2 separate regions of the Homo sapiens genome follow, and region 1 is linked to region 2. Evidence: promoter capture Hi-C in human tissues and cell types (Jung and others, 2019). All regions are on one chromosome and are shown on one strand. Each heading gives the region's core, a stretch centred on a gene start or on the middle of the fragment in contact. The rest is flanking DNA. Distances are from core to core; before and after follow the strand shown.

Region 1 (6,187 bases), core at 522-3,021, 96 kb before region 2:
CCAACAGCAGAAGCCAAGAGGCAGTGCCCAACCTCCAGACGCAGTGCGAGCATGCCCGCCATCACGGACCGCAGCACGTGCCTGTGGTCAGCAAGCCCTGGCCTGTAGGAGGTTTGGCAGAGACTAACTGTCCCAAGGTCTCTGCGACTGAAACAGATGAGAAGCCTGCTAGAACACTGCCTGGGAACTCACCTCACAACAAAGGGAGTGGAGCACTGGGTTCAGGCCCATAGAATTCACTTCAAGGAGAAGGAAAAAAAGCAGAGACACAGACGGCAGCAAAGGCAAGAAACCAGCAGCCCCAGGGAAAGCAGCAAGGCCAGCTTTGTGCTCCATTTGGCAAATTGCTAAGGTAACTGAACAAAATATAACTAATGAACAATTACAGTGAAGTTCATAATTAGCTCCTTGAAACACCTGATAAAAAATATTTCAGATTCTTTTTTAAAACAACCATACTCAAGTGAGGTGAGGAGAGGCCGACCCAGGAATTGGAGAAAGCTATGAATGGTTCCTCTGGTTTGAAAGGAACAAAGCCCCCTAAATCATTATCCAGGTAACAGCACTGGCCTCCCAGAGCTGATATGCTAATTTGAAGGAGAGAGTGAATGTGAGTGGCTAACTCGAGGCTTGACATGTAGTACATGAACAAGAAATACTTGTTCCTTCCCTCCTGTTGGGCAAGAAGTTCACTGAGGGTAGACAATGCCATCCATTACTGTCTATATTCTGTGGGGTTCTCTGGGAGCCTGACACCAAGAGATTCTTAGAAAGTATAGCTAAAAAAGAATTTTTTTTTTTTTTTTGAGACGAAGTCTTGCTGCTCTGCCGCCCAGGCTGGAGTGCAGTGGCGCGATCTCAGCTAACTGCTACCTCTGCCTCCCGGGTTCAAGCAATTCTCCTGTCTCAGCCTCCTGAGAAGCTGGGATTACAGGCATGTGCCACCATGCCCGGCTAATTTTGTATTTTTAGTGGAGACGGGGCTTCACATGTTGGTCAAGCTGGTCTCGAACTCCTGACTTCATGATCTGCCTGCCTCAGTCTCCCAAAGTGCTGGGATTACAGGCATGAGGCACTGTGCCTGGTGAGAATATCCTTGTTTTCAGGAATTCACAATAGAGTATTTAGGGACAAAGGCACATTGTGTGTGCAGTTGACTCAAACCATTTAGAAAAAAAATACACATAAGTACGTGTGTATGTGTGTGTACGTAAGGAGAGAGAAAAGGATTAAGCAAATGTCACATAATGCCAACATTTGGGCAGTTTGAGTGAAGATTATCTAGAATTGTTAGTGCTATTTTTGAAACTTTAATTTGAAATTATATCAAAACACAGAAAGTAAAGGAAAGGAATACAGATACTTGCTTCCCAGTTTCCTCTAGAGCTAGCGGTGGCCATGAGATACAGTTCTTAGCCAATGAGTCGGAGGAGAAGGCTGCTGACAATCTTTCTGGGGAGAAACTTCCCCCTGGTCAAATAAGAACGGGCTTCAAAGAGACTTCTCACTGCACTGGCTGCCTCATTGCTTTAAGTATTTGAGGATGTGGTGCCGGAGCTGCAGCAGCCATCTTGTGACCATGAGGAAAAGCCCAAGAAACTCACAAAGCTTTCCCCATGTATGAGTTTCCGTGACACTGTTGCCCCACTTATGTTACATAGGATCATTCAATTCCTATACTCCTTCAATCCCACTCATCATTCCAGGCCCAGTGTCAGAACCTGTATCACTCAGGACCAGGGGGACAGAGCAGCCCCCATGTCAAACATGACCAAAGGGAAAAGAGAGCTTTGGAGACTCTTACATCAGCAATTAAGACCTGTGACGTAAAAATGATACGTCCCTTCCACTCACAACTCATTGGCCTTCATACAGCACATGGCCCAGCCTTGATTCCACAATTCTTATTCTTGAGGGGTTTTCATGCCTAAGTTTTGCCTCTTTTCCTCAACTATAAATTCCTCATGGTAAGTTTTTAAAGTTTTTAAAGATAATGATGCCCAGAGTTTTCTCCCAACTATTAAAATCATCACCTGAAGTCAGGAGTTCGAGACAAGCCTGGGCAACACGGTGAAACCCCATCTCTACTAAAAATACAAAAATTAGCTGGACAAGTGGTGCACACCTGCAATCCCAGCTACTCGGGAGGCTGAGGCACGAGAATCTCTTGAACCTGGGAGGCAGAGGTTGCAGTGAGCCGGTATTATGCCGCTGCACTCCAGCCTGAGTGACAGAGTCAGACTCTGTCTTAAAAAAAAAAAAAAAAAAAAAAATCAGAATCCTTAGGAGTAGGGCCTAGAAATCAGATTTTACAATTCAGGTAAAACATACATTTATAGTCCACAGCAAAAATTTTAACTGTACATCTCAAATATCTTTATTATGGTAAAATATACATAACGTAAAACTTGCCACTCCACCCATTTTTAAGTGTACAGTTCAGTGGCATTAAGTACATTCACAGTGTTATGCAAAAGTCACCACCATCCATTTCTAGAAACTTTTCATCATTCCAAACTAAAACTATGTACCCATTAAATATTCACTCCCCATTCCTTCTCTCTCCCCTTCCCTGAATAAGCTCTGGTCTACTTTCTGTCCCTGTGAATGTGACTATTCTGGGTATTTCATGTAAGTGGAATCATACAGTATTTGTCATTTTGTGACCAGTGTCTGTCACGATAATGGGTTCAAGGTTCATACACATTGCAGTGTGTGTCAGAACTTCATTCCTTTTCGTGGCTGAATAACATTCTATTGTAGGGACAGAACAGTAACCATTCATCAGCAAATGCTTGTGTTGTTTCCACCTTTTGGTGGTTGTGAATAACGCTGCTACAAACATTAGCTTACAAGCATCTGCTTCTGTCCTTGCTTTCAGTTCTTTTGGGTATATACCTAGGAGTGCAATTCCTGGCTCACAGGGTAATTACATGTTTAACTTTTTGAGGAGCCACCAGTGTGTTTCCACAGCAGCTGCCCCAATTTACATTCCCACCAGTAAGGCACCAGGGTTCAGTTTCTCCATATCCTCACCAAAGCCCAAGTTTTTGCTACACATATATGAACTCAAGTAACCACCACGTGGATAAAGACATCTAACATTTCCTGCATCCCAGAAGGTACCCTCATGGAAACCGGTATTGTTGCAAGCTCCCCAGCAGCCAGGGTCAAGAACCACGTCTTAAACTTTTAGGGGTTCTATCTCTGTCAAGGTTGGCTAACTCTCAACCTAAGAATAAGCCTCAAGTCTGAAGATGGAACATTAAAAATGACATTGTCACCTTGACAGAGTGGTTAATAACACCCCAGCGGGCCGGAGCCCATCAATCATGGGCTGCTGCCTTCTGTTTCGAGAGCTGAGGAAGACACCAAGATGGAAAGGAGGGAGGCAGCACAGGACAAGCTGGAGTGGCTGCCTAGGCACAGAAATCCCATACCACGCCTCCCCAGGCCTCTCCCCAGACTGGGAACAATAAATCTAGCAGCCAGATAGAAGCACTGCCCTCCCTGAATTCAATTTGCAAGGTCAACCAGGCCTAACAGAATTGTGACATCGGCGTCGCAGTCATTTACAACCCACTCTTGCCGTGTCTGAACATGAAAGCAATTATGTGATACATACTTTGGCAAGAACCTGAAGCTCCCATCAAGGGCGAGAGAAACACTGTCGAGTCAGGATATGTAAAGAAAGAACAAAGGAAAAGAAGGAAAGCCATAAAGACACATTCATAATGAAAATTTGAAAATTTCCACTTCCTTAGAAATCACATAAGAAGACTTAAGAGTCAGAAACCTTTTGAAAGCTCCATTGTCTTAAAAGTATAAATAGTATCTTTTTAGAAACCCACAATTTCAATCAAGCTGGAATAATGGGAAGTACCATTCATTGAACGTTGTCTTTTGAAATTTCATGACACATGAAATGATTCTCACTCAAAATCGAATTAGAGGCTCAAGCATGTGAGTTTGTGACAATGTCAAAGTGACTTGGAAAATGTACACGTAATTGATCTTCTTCACTGGGGTATGATTTTTTTGATCAATCTAGATATTCAGGAAGTACCCACGATATCAAAAGAGGGAGTCTCACTATCCTTCTTGGGAACTCTTTCCAAAAGGGCTGGCCCTAGCCCATGTGACCTTGGGCAAGCTCCCTGAACTTGGGCCTTATTCCCCATCTTCCAAATAGGGATAATGATGACACCTACCTTCTAGGGTTATACTCAGGATCGTGGCCCTGGAACAGCACCCAGCATATGGTATGTACTACAGCAGTGTTAGCTATTATTGGCAGGAAATGGCTAGGCCCCAAGGGCTCAGCAGAACCCAGCCCAAAGCCCACACAACTGTGACTCCAGCCCCTGAAGTCAGTGGTCTCAGGCCCTGTTGCAAAAGGACAGCTCGGCAGACCACACAGTAGAAGCCATATCCTTTAGCCACCAGACAGCCCAGCGGACAAAAGCCTTAGCAACAGGCACAGAGAGGACCCAGGAGTCGTTACCAAAACTGCAGTTCCCTCCACCCCAGCCTGGGTGAGGCAGGAGCACCCACCACCTCCCTCTTCAAATGCCTTCTTTCAGGTGCCAGTTCCCACCGGCAGCCCTTAAGCACAGCTTGCCTGCAAGCCAGGGACTCCTGCGCCAGGCCATTCAAGGTTTCCATCCTCCCTGTGCCAGCCAGTCCGACTCAGAAGCCATTCAGCTCAGGGATGTCCCAGTACAGATGCAGGGCCTCGGGGTTCGAGAAAGCACCTCGTTGCTCCATGGCTTTTCGAGCGATGATCTGTTTGACGGCAACTTCCACTTTATTGCCACTGAGCGTGTACTGCGAGGGAAGGGTAGAAAAAAACAAGAAACTGCACTTAAACCTGAAGCGGGGAAAACGCACGGCCCTGGGTATATCCAGGCCCAAAAGGCCCAGCCTCCACCCGGAGAGCCAAGAGTGAATGAGTCTCAGCTCCAAGACGCCCCTCTCCCTGCTAGGTCTGCAAAACCTATTTCTGAAAGGCAATTTCAAGACCTGGTGCTGAAACCCAAGTCTAACACTCCCTGAAACCCTCCCACACTGCCCCTGGCACAGTTATTGAGAAAGTGAGGCTATTTCAGAGATGCCCAGAGGTCACCATGAGCACCTTCATTTTTCTAACGCTGCACACCTCAATGGGCCCCACTGGGACCCGCTGCATGTGTCACATCCAAGCTGACCTCCAGAGGGCCCTCAAGACACCCCACTGACCCCGGCAGTGCATATTCCAGATGGGAACATAAAAAAAGTGTCTCTCAGGGTCCAGGCTCTGCCTGACCAGGATGAAAATGCAGACATAAGATCATTCCTAAATCTGAGCAGGCACCCTGAGCAAGAAAGTTTTCAGGGAAGATGTGGCTTCTGCCACCACCACATCTGGGGGATGCTGGGTGAATTCCTGAACCTGGTTCATTTCCTTGAATGAAAGTGGGGGTGCCAGCACCTAGGCTGTAGGGCTGTGAGTCAGGGGGTAAACAGGTCAGTGCACGCACAGCTTCAGAAGCGCCTAGCTACTATGTTTTATGATGATTTTACTTTTATTTATACTTTTACTTCTCTATACATTTTATTACATTATTCTATGATAAAGACTAGCTGCTGCCATTACTTCAGAAGTGGCCCAGCTTCCTAGAGCTACGGGCAAGAGCATCCCCAAGTTCCCATGAACTCCTCCTCGGAGCCAGCCATCTGCAGCAGACGGTGCGTTACTTTTTCTCGTAGTTGCACCCTTTCCAAACATTCAGAGCTCCTCTAAGATTCGTGGCACATGTGTTTCACCTTGAATCCAAACGAGCCTTTGGTGGCGTGGGTGTGTTGTGGGCTAGAAAACCTCAAGAGCAAGAGAGCCCAGTAGGGCTCCTCTGCCTGAGCTCTGGATCACTGGTGCCTTTTTTTTTTTTTTTTTAACCTGAGCTGTAATTAAAATTCATTCACCTGAAAAATTCAGTCGACGTGTGAACTAATTAGGGATCTAAGCGCCGGCTTCCGAGGAGGGCCTGCATGTCACTTCGTGTGGTGTCGCCGGCCCTCCCGCTGTGAGATGGAAATGGCTCGCCTGCTCTGTGCCCCACTACGCTTCATGCAGGGGTCCATGTGCAGCTCGTGGGCACGAATAACGCCACCTTCCACCTGCTGGTAAAATATAGCGGCCTCCCCTTAA
Region 2 (7,098 bases), core at 2,006-4,505:
CATGTCTGTTTTCCCCAGAGCAGAAGTACAAATTTGGTTTTTTGTTTTTTCTTTTTGAGACAGGGTCTCACTCTGCTGCCTAGTCTAAAGTGCAATGGCACGATCATGGCTCACTGCAGCCTCAACCTCCTGGGCTCAGGCGATCCTCCCACCTCAGCCTCCCGGGTAGTTCGGCTACAGGCGTGTGCCACCATGCCCGGCTAATTTTATATTTTTAGTAGAGACGGGTTTTCTCCATATTGGTCAGGCTGGTCTCGAACTCCTGACCTCAAGTAATCTGCCCGCCTCACCCTCCCAAAATGCTGGGATTACCGGCGTGAGCCACTGTGCCCGGTTGAGTTTTTAATTTTTTACATCATTGTTGGCTGTTGGCTTTTGAGGGTTGGGGTGTATATATATATGTATGTATGTATGTATGTATTTATATGAGACAGATCTGGTCTTGCTTTATTGCCCAGGCGGCTGGAGTGCAGTGGCACAATCTCAGCTCACTGCAATCTCCTCCTCCCGGGCTCAAGCAACCCTCCTGTCTCAGCCTCCCAAGTAGCTGGGACCACAGGAGTGTGCCATCATGCCCAGCTAATTTTCATAATTTTTTTTTTTTTGTAGAGACAGGATCTCACTATGCTGCCCAAGCTGGTCTCAAACTCCTGGGCTCAAGCAGTTGTCCCACCTCAGCCTCCCAAAGTGCTGGGATTATAGGCATGTGCCACCACGCCTGGATAATTTTGTATTTTTAGTAGAGATGGGGTTTCACTATGTTGGTCAGCCTGGTCTGACCTCAGGTCATCCACCCACTTGGGCCTCCCAAAGTGCTGGGATTACAGGCATGAGCCACTGTGCCCAGCTGAGAAAGGATTTGTTTATTTATTTATTTGAGACAGAGTCTCGCTCTGTTGCCCAGGCTGGAATGCAGTGGTACAATCTCAGCTCACTGAAACCTCTGCCCTCCTGGGTTCAAGAGAGTCTCCTGCCTCAGTCTCCTGAGTAGCTGGGATTACAGGCGTGCCCCACCACGCCTGGCTAGTTTTTGTATTTTTAGTAGAGACGGGGTTTCACCATGTTGGCCAGGCTGGTCTCAAACCCCTGGCCTCAAGTGATGCACTTGCCTCAGCTTCTCAAAGTGCTGGGATTACAGGTGTGAGCCACCACACCCGACTGGAGGAAGGATTTTTATGGAAGACAGCAACACATTCGGCTTTGTGCTGAGAAGCAGAGTGTAGAAGAAAAACAGTAGATACTGGAAAAGGAGTCAAAAGCCATATGGTTTAGGGCCCACAACAAGGATTCTGGCTTTCACTCTAATTGCAAAGAGAAGACAATAAAACATCTCATTTTTGTTAAAAAATCTTTTTTACACCAGGCATAGTGGCTCACGCCTGTAATCCCAGCACTTTGGGAGGCCGAGGCGGGAGGATCACTTGAGCCTAGGCGTTTGAGACCAGCCTGGGCAACATAGTGAGACCCCGTCTCTCAAAAACAAAAACAAACAACAACAACAACAACAAAAAAAAACAGAAGCAGCAGCTTGTGGAAGTGTAGAGTAGTGTAGAGAGAGATAACAGGGCCTTGCACTGGGCAAGCAACCATGGAAGGACACCTGCAGTTCATGGCAACAGGGTGGGCGTGGCTCTACAAGTAAGGGACAGTTGTGCCATATGGAATTACCTATATGGGAAGATTGGTAATTAACACACAGGGAAATCACCATGCTACTTTCTTCTATGATTTTGACTATTTTAGATTCTACGTGTAAATGAAATAATGCAGTATTTGTATTTCTGTGCCTTCTTTATTTCACTTAACATAATGTCCTCCGGGTTCATCCATATTGTCACATATGTCAGGATTTCTTTATTTTTTTAAGGCAGAATAATATTCCTTTGTGTATATAAACACATTGTGGCCGGGCTCGGTGGCTCACGCCTGTAATCCGAGCACTTTGGGAGGCCGAGGAGGGTGGATCACGAGGTCAGAAGTTCAAGACCAGCCTGGTGAAGATGGTGAAACCCCATCTCTATTAAAACTACAAAAATTAGCTGGGCGTGGTCGCGGGTGCCTGTAATCCCTGCTACTTGGGAGACTGAGGCAGAGAACTGCTTGAACCTGGAAGGCGGAGGTGGCAGTGAGCCAAGATTGCGCCATTGCACTCCAGCCTGGGTGACAGAGCAAGACACCGTCCCAAACAAACAAACAAACAAAACATTTCCTTTATCTATTCATCCATCAACAGATAGTTGTTTCCATATCTTGGCCATGGTGAATAATGTTGCAGCTAACATGGGAGTGCAGGTATCTCACGGAGTTTCACTTCCTCTGGATCTATAGCCAGAAATGGGATTGGTGGATCCTAATGTAGCTCTAGTTATAATTTTTTGAGGAACCTCTATACCGTTTTCTGTAATGATTGTACCAATTTACATCCTTTTGATAGTGGCCATCCTAATGGAGGTGCAGTGATTTCTCATTGAGTTTGGGTTTATATTTCTCTTATACCTAGAGATGTTTACCATCTTTTTATATGCTTGTTGCTCATTGCTCATTTGTATATCTTCATTGGAGAATTGCCTATTCAAGTCCTTTGTCCATTTTAAAATCAGGTTATTTGGTTTTGTTATTGTTGTTGAGTTGTAAAAGTTCCATATAAATCCAGGATACATTGCAAATCAGATATATGATATGTAAGCATTTTCGTCTATTCTGTAGATTGCCTTTGTTTCCTTTGATTAGCCAAAGTTTTTAAGTTTGATGTAGTCCCATTTGTCTATTTTTGCTGTTATCTGTGCTTCTGATGTCATATTCAAGAAATCATTGCCATCTCCAACATCCTGAAGTTTTTTCCCTTTTTACTTTAGTAATTTATAAAATAATTTGGTCTCACATTTAGGTTTTTAATCAATTTTGAGTTAATTTTTATGTATGGTGTACGGTCAGGGTACAGGCTCATCTTTTGCACGTGGAAATCCAGCTTTGTCAACATCTTTTGCAGGGGATTTTCCTTTCCCAATTGTGTAGTAGTTGTTTTCGTGCCGCCCACGCCATCCTGAAATTCACACACAGAGTTGCAAGTTACTGCCCTCCGGGAACCTCCCCTTCTCTTCCGAAGAACCAGGAACCCGGGGCTCTACAGCTCACCCGGGCCCTCTCATAGGTCTGGGCGCCTAACAGCTCAGCTGCGACCTCGCCTCAAACGCGTGGAACTACACTTCCCAGAAAGCCAGCGTCCTCCCGTGGACTCCATTTCCTAGAGGCCTTAGCGGCCGCCTTGCTCCTCTAGGTCCCAGGCGCTCTGCGGAGCTTTCGCTGCCCGGTGAGCGGCGCCGGGCTTGAGGTCGCCCAGACGTCGGAGGAGCCGGGTCACGAGGCTGGAGCTTCCTGCTTGCAGAGTGCGGCGGGGAGGCGCGGCCCGGGAACGCGGGATCCTGGGGAGGTGAGCGGCATGGCTGGCTGTGCCGGGAGGAGGCGGCGCCTGGCGCCAGGGCGACCTGAGGCCGCGGGGCTCCGAGGGCCTCTGTGGGCGCGGGGGGGCACCCCCGCGTCTGTCACCGGCCCCCGCGCCAGGACTTGGACTCTCGCCCCTCACGGGCCGCTCCGGTGCCGCTGCCGACGCCCCTGCCTCTGGCTCGCGCCGCCCGCCGTGAACGCGGGGCCAGGCGTTTCCTCCCGGGCCCACCCTGCGCGCGCCGTGTGGGCCTCGCGGACTCGGGGCGCCGGGACCCCGAGCGCAGGGCAGAGGCAGCCGGGCCCGGTTTCTGAGTCAGTCCCCAGGACGGCCACTCCTCCTGCCTCGGGACACCCAGCGCTTTCCTCTTCAAAGCCGTTTTCCGTGGAGTCGGGAGACGATTCGTTGGCGGGAGAGAGAGGAACCGGCTGGGAAAGGCTTGAGGCGGAGGGAAGTCGTCCCGGGGCCGTCGTGGTGGGAGTCCCGGCCCGCCTCGCAGCGGCGTGAACGGGGCAGGTGCCCCGGCGCTGCCTCAGTTTCCTGAGCGGTGCAGTGGGTGCTGGCAGTGCCAGCTGGCGCCGAGGAACTCAGCGGCGTGGGGCGAGCCCTGGCCCTGGTGGGCTCAGCGGGTCGCTGCTGCCACTGCGGGTCCAGCGTCCCCTCCGTAAGCCCCAAGCCTGTGGGGCCTGGGCCTGGCCGGGCGGCCCAGCGCTGCTCTGGTCCGCGGGCTCCTGGCTCCTCCCGAATCCCTGTGAGGGCGCGCGGGGTCCTTCTCAGCGGGAGTCGGGGTTTTAGAGCTGCGGATTCCAGGGCTGGAAAGCAGAAGGGGTTCTTCCTGGCTCCCTTTTTCTTCTCAGATCTGCCTTCTGGAGACTGCGCCGTCCTCCCGGGAGAGCCAGAAAGAGGACATGGCTGCTGGGCAGCGGGAAGCGAGGCCCCAGGTGAGCTCATTGCCCTCCCAGATCCCAGTGGATGGATTTTCCCCACTAACTGGAGTTCTTCACCCGGGACCATCTCCAGCCAGGATGGAGCCCAAGTCCTTTTCTCTTGGAGGAGCTGGTCCGCCCTCATGACTGGTGGATTCTGTAGGGAGGACCACCCACCCTCCCCACCCGTGTCTAGTGGTTTTTAATTAACAGTTTGTTCACGAATCTTCATCCATTGTGTGACTAGTTTGACAAGTAAGATACCACAAGTCTGTCTGTCACTAAGAGCAAACGTACACACGTGGGAAAAATCCCTGCCTCCTCCACTCACCCATGTCTCCGTTCCTGTCCTTCGCAGGAATACTTTCTCTTTTCACCCCTGAGAATCCTCATAACACCACCCCTTCCCCAGGCTTCTCCAACGCATCGTTGTTAGTTTTTTGTCCCTCTTAACTTTGTGAATCATATTCTTTGCTTGTATCACTGTCTTGAAATCTATTGTAGACCGTTTTCATTTTTGTGTAGTGGGAATGAGGAGGCCACCCTTTCTAGTTGAGACGAGAGTGAACAGAGTTGGAGAGGTCGCTTGACTCGCAGGACACAGAAGACCCCTCAGCTAGCGGCAGGAAGGGTTTCATGGGATAGCAATAGTGCAGAGGCAGCGTAGGTGGTAGTTAGGAAGTAGGGCTGTTAAGCCAGATGGCAGCGTTTTAACCCATCTCCTCTGTTGCTGTTTGTGGGCCTTGGGCTTCACCTCTCTGTGCCTCAGTTTTCTCACCTGTAAAATGGGAATAACAGCCGTGCCCACCTCCCAGCGTAGATGAAGGGATCACATGAGTTAGTGTGTGGAAAGTGTTCGGATCAGGGCTGGGCACTGAGTAGTTACTGCTCAGCATATGGTGGTTGTGTTTGCTGAGTGACATTATTGTCTTAATATATTAATGTTAATGTTGGTAGATAGAAACTGCTGTACAATGTGTTTAGGACCCAGACGATGTTATCCTTTATTCATTTTTTTATCTAACAATACTAATGTCCACCGAGTGTCTAGCATACCAGGGAATGGGCTGAGGGCTTTACATTTGTTCTCTCACTCGCACAGTAGCACAACAATTACAATTCTTGTTTTACATGTGAGGAAACTGAGGCTCAGAAAAGTTAAGTAACCTGAGTACAGTCCAAGTATGCCTGGCTCTGAGTTCCGTCGGACCACCCAGTCGTCCCTGTGGTGCGTCTTTCAGAGTATGGGCAGATGCAGCCACGCGATACCAGAGTGCTTCTGCAGCGTGGCATTATCTTTTTTTTTTTTTTTTTTTTTTGAGAGGCAGTCTTGCTCTGTCACCCAGGCTGGAGTGCAGTGGCGCGATCTCGGCTCACTGCAACCTCCGCCTCCCTGGTTCAAGCAATTCCCCTGCCTCAGCCTCCTGAGTAGCTAGGACTACAGGCATGTGCCACCACGCCCGGCTAATTTTTTTTTGTATTTTAGTAGAGACGGGGTTTCACCATGTTGGCCAGGATGGCCTCAATCTCCTGACCTCGTGATCCACCAGCCACAGCCTCCCGGAGTGCTGGGATTAAAGGTGTGAGCCGCCGCGCCTGGCGGCGTTATCTTTTAAACTAGCCAAGACAGTGGAGTGGGAGCTGAGGGTGTGGCCAGAACAGGCTATTGTGCATTTGAGCTGGTATTTGTCCTCGAAGGCATTCCTATTCCATTCTCACAGAGCCAAGCTGCTCTCCTGACTAGAACCTTCTCCATCCCTGTGTGTGGGTGAGTCTCTGTGGCATCCTTCCTGTCTGTTCTTGCTTGCCATGCGTCAGTAATGTGTAGACCTGTGTGTAAAATTCAGTGAAGGGAATTTTAAGACCAGAGAGTGCAGAGTTCACAATTAGAAAACCGGAGTTATGATCTTGCTGCTACCTCTAGCAAAGCACATGACCTGGGATCTTGGCTGCCCTGGACCTTGTGTTCTTGTCTCAGGGCTCTATGCAGATACACAGTGGTTCAAATTATTTCATGCATTTTCTAGTCCGCCAGTCAGATTATACATTCTTTGAGAACAAAGATCATGTCTTGTACTCTTCCCCAATATGCAGATAATTTGATGCTCTTTTTCACCATAAAAATATTGCAGGGTTATGGTGTAAATTTTAGAGAATAAAACATTTATATATATACATATGTATATGTGTGTGTATATATATGTATGTTTATGGATACGTGTGTATATATATGTGCATATGTATGTGTATGTTTATATAGTTGTGCATTGCATAATGACATTTTGGTCAATAAAAGACCATAAATGTGATAGTGGTCCCATAAGATTAAAACCTAGCTGAAAGATTCCTGTCTCCTAATGACTAAGTAGCTATTGTAACATTATAGTGCAGGGCTTTGCTCCTGTTTTGTGGTGATGCTGGTATAAACAGACCTACCATGCAGCCTGCCAGTCCTATAAAAGTATACAGCATATGCGATTGTACAGTTCATAATAGTTGATGATATCTGACTGTGTTGCTGGGTTATATATTTATTGTACTATTCTTGTTATTTTACAGTGTCTTCCTTTTGCTTGTTTTTTAAAAAGTTAACTGTAACAGCCTCAGGCAGGTTCTTTGAGAGGTATGCAGAAGAAAGCTTTGTTCTCATAGGAGATGACAGCTGCATGTGTGTCATTGCCCCTGAAGACCTTCCAGTGGGGCAGGGTGGAGAGGTGGAAGACAGTGGTG

What was found. The method cuts DNA at HindIII sites, captures the fragments that hold promoters and counts their contacts. A contact is called where the count stands out against the background at its distance.
Region 1: a contact is called between a fragment that was not itself captured here and the fragment with the promoter of ZNF354B in region 2, in 2 of the 25 tissues and cell types used here (liver and spleen).

Annotation. Positions count from the first base shown.
Region 1 is chr5:178,762,509-178,768,695 of GRCh38, forward strand. It overlaps the pseudogene AACSP1. Among named protein-coding and RNA genes, the nearest start is that of ZNF354A, 35 kb to the left of the region's middle. The HindIII fragment of the contact is 4,639 bases long and covers 1-4,091 here.
Region 2 is chr5:178,856,698-178,863,795 of GRCh38, forward strand. It overlaps ZNF354B (zinc finger protein 354B), which reads left to right and starts at 3,256. Exons shown (of 5, transcript NM_058230.3): 1 at 3,256-3,430; 2 at 4,300-4,383. The coding sequence starts at 4,351. It overlaps LOC107986493 (a long non-coding RNA gene), which reads right to left. Exons shown (of 3, transcript XR_001743039.2): 3 at 6,028-6,336. RefSeq lists enhancers at 3,106-3,838, 3,123-3,322 and silencers at 3,463-3,662, 3,743-3,822. The HindIII fragment of the contact is 12,564 bases long and covers 1-7,098 here.